2 separate regions of the Homo sapiens genome follow, and region 2 is linked to region 1. The links are contacts of gene promoters, found by promoter capture Hi-C in human tissues and cell types (Jung and others, 2019). All regions are on one chromosome and are shown on one strand. Each heading gives the region's core, a stretch centred on a gene start or on the middle of the fragment in contact. The rest is flanking DNA. Distances are from core to core; before and after follow the strand shown.

Region 1 (2,767 bases), core at 246-2,745:
TGGAAATCTCTGGTTTGTGGGTATTTATACGTTCTCATCTCATTTAGAAACTTATAATTGGCTCTGTAAAAAGGAAAACTAGACTACACTAGTGACTAGAAAATTAAGATCATTAACATTGTATCCATTTTAACACGGTACCCCAATACCATACATCATTCATTCATTCTTCATTCATTCAGTTGTTCCCCATACTTTCTGTTACTCCCTTAAATTTGGAGCTGGATCTTCATTAAATGCTTAAGATTTCTCCAAGGAATAAATATAAGAAGTAGGAACACTTACTTTCCAGTAATAAACTGACTCCTGGATGGTGTGCAAATAGGCTGGACATAGTAGTTCTCCAGTTTAACTCCTTCGGCAGCGAGCTTGTCAAGAGTAGGTGTTTTAATCTCAGATCCGTGGTAACCCACATCTCTAAATCCCTGATCATCCGCTAGGATGAAAATGAGATGGGGCTGGGAGGTGGAAGTTGTGCTGGGCTCTAGTTTCTCTCCAGCTTGAGCTAGTAAGGCCCCTTCTTCCTCCTCTTCTAAGGCCTGGCCCCAGGACAGGTAACCATAAGTGAGGAGGCAGAGGATCCAGAATCCTGCCAGCGCCCCCATTGCTAGCATCTTTCCAGGACAGACACAGGCCTGTGGAGAAGGCGGAGGCGGATGCCCCGCACAGCCCCTGGGAGCCATTCACTCAGGTCCCAGGTGAGACTCCACGCGGAGAACCACGCGCCCCGCGCCGCTGCGGGCGCACACATGCACCCAACAGACGGTGAAGACTCTCCACCTGGCAAGAAATCCTCCTCTCCTCTCAGCTGTCACCATGTCCGACAACTTTAATCTTCCAGAAGTGATGGCTTAATGGATGGGACTCCGGAAGAACAAGGAGGGCTCGCTCTTCTCCAGCACATTTCACTTTCTCCTCCTCCTCCCCCCTCCCTAGAGCAGCTTCCACCAAGGAAAAAAAAAAGAAAAAAGTTAATATCTCCACCCAAAAGTTCTCTGGAGAAAAAAACCAAGCAAGGAATTGAGAATCACAGTGGACAGGAACTTTTCGTGGCCAGAGCGCCCTCGACGTTGGGGAGCGAGGCTGACTCTCCTGGGAGTGCTGGTACGGAGGGCGGCGGGATCGGCCGTCTGTCCTGCGGTCCCCACACCTGGAAAGAACTGCGAAGTGGACGCGTCGCGTCTGGCTCTGATCAGACAGATAAACTGCCGTAGTGGACCGGCCTCCTGATCACCTTCTCCACTTTCCCAGGGCTATTTTCCCCAGTCCTTTCCTAGGCGTTTGCCAATCTCCCCGACACTCACCAGGCGGCGAAGTGAGGAAGAAGCCGTTTCCTGATCTCCCTCCACCTCCGCAGAAACTCCGGGCAGCAATTCCTTTTCCCCGCTGCTAGGGAGCCTGAAGGCCAAAGCCGGGTCCCTAGCCCCGCGGCCGGTCCGCGCGGAGCCCGCTTGGTCTTTGCGTAGTTGGCGCACCCGGCGCAGGCGCTGCAAACTGCGTGCGTTTTCTCAGCTAACTTATTTAGCTTTGGCACTCCGAGTTCTTTTGCCTCCTCCCTCTTTTCTCTCCAGTGAATCACAGAACGGTACTTTCTTCCTGAGCTCCCCCGGGAAGAGGGGGTGGGGGAAAAGGACTGTTTAGAGGCTCGATCTTTCCTTTTTCTTTTCCGGGAGGTGGATGGCCAAGGCAGAGGAGGCTTTGCCAGAGAGAGAGCTGCGTGCTGCTCCAGCCCAGCGGGATTCCGGGGGATCCGCCTGGGCTACCGCGTCCCAAGAGTGTCGCCTCCTGCCCATCACCCCGCTAGAGGGAAAGGACGGCGGCGCGAATGGGGAAGGGTAAAGCGGGCACTTCTTTTCGTGGGGCTGTTGGTGAAGAGCCCCGTCTCCCATCCCTAAAGTTGCGCTTGCAAACTTTTTCTAGCTTCTGGAGGGAGTGAGAGAGAAGGAGCAGGAATAAAAACAAAATGCGTATGACACTCTTTCCTCTTTCCAACTTCCTTTGCAGGTTTTCCTTTACTAGTCCCCCCACCCCCATCATTTTCCTATTCCTTTTGTCCCTACCTTTTTTTTTTTTTTTTTCAGTAACGATGACAAATTTTTAAGTTTTATTTCCTCTCCCAATAGCTGGCTTTTACAGCCTGATTCTTCGTTACCCTTTCCCTATGTGAAAATACTGGAATTGCCCGCTCCCTCTTACCTCTCCCCTAACTTACCCACAGGGTGTCTCCAGCCAAAAGCCTGGAGAGGAAGAGTTATGCATTTCTCCTTCAAGAACCCCGAAGCCAGTCTGCATTCCTGCATTAAAGAAGCCAGTGTTTCCCATCCAGTAATTCAGGGAGCTTCATCATTTTTTTTCCTTCTTTCTTTTTTACCATGTGGAGGAAAACCATTGTAAAAACTTATCTTGGTTGTGAAAATACTCTTGATTTTACTAGAGTCATAGAGTTTTAAAGTCCTGCTCAAAGGCAGCAGAGGGATGTATAGTATAGTCTCTATAGAAGAGGCAATGAATGCCAAGAGCCACTGAGATATTTTTTTCTACCACCAAATTTATTCAACAGTTACTTACTGAATACCTACTGTGGGCTGGCACATAACATGTCAGATTCTCTCAATTGACTGAAACATAAATCTAGGTTTCATTTAGCCATTTATTTCTAATTCTCTCCTGTTGCTAAAGTTCCTGCTGAGTTCCCAGGCAAAACTTTGTGAAATGGGAACTTTGAAAGGCACGATGGTGCTCCATGAAGTTAACCTTGCTAGCTGCT
Region 2 (2,959 bases), core at 313-2,812, 390 kb after region 1:
TTGTAAAATTTCTTTACAGCAATGCCTAAACCAGTGTTGGATTGTATCAATTAGCTAGGAGTGGGAGGTACACTAAGGGCTAAGAATCTTAGGGGGCCATCTTCAAATCCTGCCTACCACAGGGGCAACAAGTTACCTCAAAATGTTGATTATTACAGAATATTGACTTCCTGTATGTAAGACAAGAAATAAATTTGATAGGGTAAATATAAAATGACTTATAAATTGTGAATGTTTCATTTATTACTCATCCAAATACTGCTGCTCCATCAATAGAATATCAAAAGGTGGGCAATTTAGTTGTCTTTGATTTTTGTGCCAATGTTTAATATTATAAAAATAATAATTTTATACATATGTTTAATTTTGTAATTATGAAGATACATTTGTCCAGAGAAGGATATTCGACTTAATAATTTGTTTTTCTAATTTATGACTTTTACATGTTTAAATTATGGTATAAGGGGAATCCTGGAAATTGGCCTGCTCTTCTCCCAATAAATAAGTCATGCTTTTTTTTTTTTTTAAGGCTAAGTGATTAAGGTGCTTAAATGTGGGACATTTATAGAACAAGACAATTTGTTCCCTGCTATCCTTTGATTCCCTTAGCTTACTTAAAGTGTCTCCAAGCCTGCTAAATAACAGATTTCTTATACACAAAGCATTCCTACAGCAACTCCTGGTGGATTTCTTCTAAGTGATACCCCTGAACCTACCTGTTCTGAACTACAGAATAAATAAAATGCTCCTGCTGAAAAATAGTTTTCCAACTAACTTCTCACCCTTTATATTCAACAATTCCATTGGTGCCACAGTAAGATATGGTCAAGGTCTTTGTACAGAACTATCTAGTTGAAGTAATTTTTTACTAGTTTATTGTACTGGCCCTTTTTTCTTCTAAGATTTCCTATTATTATTTTTTCCCAATGAAGCTTTACTTAGCAACATCTCAAGCATTGTCATGAAGTGATGTGAACTCGTTAAACAGTCTGAGAGAGCTTCTGCCACAAATTTACCTGAGGTAGCTTCCTTAAGCTATCTCTTTTTTTCCTCCCCCCATTACCTATCAGCAGCAGCAGTAATTGTGAGTTGCAGGGATGGGTTCGCTATATGTTCTTTACCATATACAAGTAACTCATCCATACAAGCCTTATAAACCATATATTAAATATTAAATGCACAATATTTAAGGTTATTTGTCAATGATAGTCCTATGTCCTCTATTTGAGACGTTAAAGTTATGGTATTTTGGTTAATTAAACTTCCAAAAATTATTAAGGAAACATGATCTGACCATTACAGATTCATATACGGCAGCAGAGGACTGAGTCAGGAAATCAAGAATGCATGTTTACCATAAAATTCAACAGCTTGGCCACTGCCTCTGATACATGCCTATAATTCCACTTAGTGATTATCACATGGCACTGTTTCCAAATATTGTCAGAAATCTTAAATTTCTGATTGCTGATTAGTTGCACACAAGGTCCAAGTCACAACTAATCCATAGCTAAACCTCTAGTATGTTTATCTTTTTCAACCACTCTCTAAAATTCTGCAAAGTGTTGGTGGCATTTTGCTTACTGTGAGACTTCAAAAACATCTCAACTCCCCTGTGGCTGGAATAGGTTGGCACTCAAACTAGAACCTTTTATGTCCAGTGTCCATTATATTAATAATGTTGCCTCAGATCAGTTAGATTTATTGTCTTCAGATACCCAGACCATGTTTTAAATAATTGTACTAAGATTTTCTATTTAACTAAGTCACATTACTGCCCAAATGAAGGCAAGTCCTAATCTTGATTACATTTTTAAAGTGTAATTATCTGGGAAAGAGAAAAGAAATAATAACAGAGATCTTATGTTTGTCCTGATGGCCACATGCTGAGAAGTTGGGAGGTATTTAAATTTAATATCCATTAGGAATTCACCAAGCAGGCCTGAACTTAGTGCAAGGATCTCTAATTTATGAAACTATCTTGAGGCTTCTGTGAGCAAATGTAGGTCTCTGTGCTCTCCTATCCCCTGGCAAGGGAGGGGTATGCACTTTTGTTTCATTATGCGTTACTTCCTAAATTGTAAGTTATCATTCTCTAAAAGTCTGTAACACCAAGAAATAATATCGCAGCACATGGAGAGAATAAGCAATTGGATTTCCTTTTCTCACAGGTATGGTCATGACTTAGGTACACGTGGGGACTGAATTAAGATTGAATGCGTTGTATTTTAAGTCAGAGAAACATGATGAAAACAAAAAGCATGCAGTTGTGTTCACTAAATTATCTTTCATTTTGGTTAGTAAAGGAAAAAATATTGAAGATTGTTATGTTAAAGAGACTGAAAACAAAGGGCAAGACTCTGCCTCAGCTCTCTCTGCCTGATGACAGGACATCAGTCCTTGCTTATTGGAGACAGCACTTGCTTATCAGCCCAGGGAAGGCACCAGCAGACACCAGAGGAACTTGGGAATGGATTTTACTATCTCCCCACATTTTCCCACCATTTAAAAGACTGAAACTTCTCTCTCTTTTTTCTCTACATAGGATTTATGGCTCTTTGTTAAAATACTATTAAATTCAAGCAAGGTCCCTGAGCCACAGCTTTGAGAGAGAAATACTTTTGAACTGAGGCCTCTCCTGTGTGATAGAACAGCACATGTTAATAAGCTTATGCTTATTTTTCTTTTGTTAATCTGACTTTTATTTTCAGGAACATGTCTGAACTAAGAATCTTAATAGGAAAGGGAACGAAATTGTTTCCTTCCCTATACTAGCTAAATATTGGGATATGCCATTACCAAATGTTACAATAATGGCTTACATTTCACTGTGTACCTTAGCAATAGAGGAAAAAGAAGAGAAAAGGAAAATCATAGTTTTTTTTTTTTTTTTTTTTTTTTTTTTTAAATGGAGTCTCCCTCTGTTGCCCAGGCTGGAGTGTAGTGGCGTAATCTCAGC

What was found. Contacts are between HindIII fragments. The study calls those that stand out against the background at their distance.
Region 2: a fragment that was not itself captured here is called in contact with the fragment with the promoter of ARSJ in region 1 in 3 of the 25 tissues and cell types used here (H1 embryonic stem cells, lymphoblastoid cells and mesenchymal stem cells).

The regions. Positions count from the first base shown.
Region 1 is chr4:113,978,152-113,980,918 of GRCh38, forward strand. ARSJ (arylsulfatase family member J) reads right to left here and starts at 1,496. Exons shown (of 2, transcript NM_024590.4): 1 at 286-1,496. The coding sequence starts at 683. LOC107986305 (a long non-coding RNA gene) reads left to right here and starts at 1,662. Exons shown (of 2, transcript XR_001741794.2): 1 at 1,662-1,835; 2 at 2,219-2,767. LOC124900762 (a long non-coding RNA gene) reads right to left here. Exons shown (of 3, transcript XR_007058237.1): 3 at 2,744-2,767. The HindIII fragment of the contact is 13,267 bases long and covers 1-2,767 here.
Region 2 is chr4:114,365,205-114,368,163 of GRCh38, forward strand. No RefSeq gene overlaps it. Among named protein-coding and RNA genes, the nearest start is that of UGT8, 230 kb to the right of the region's middle. The HindIII fragment of the contact is 4,665 bases long and covers 1-2,959 here.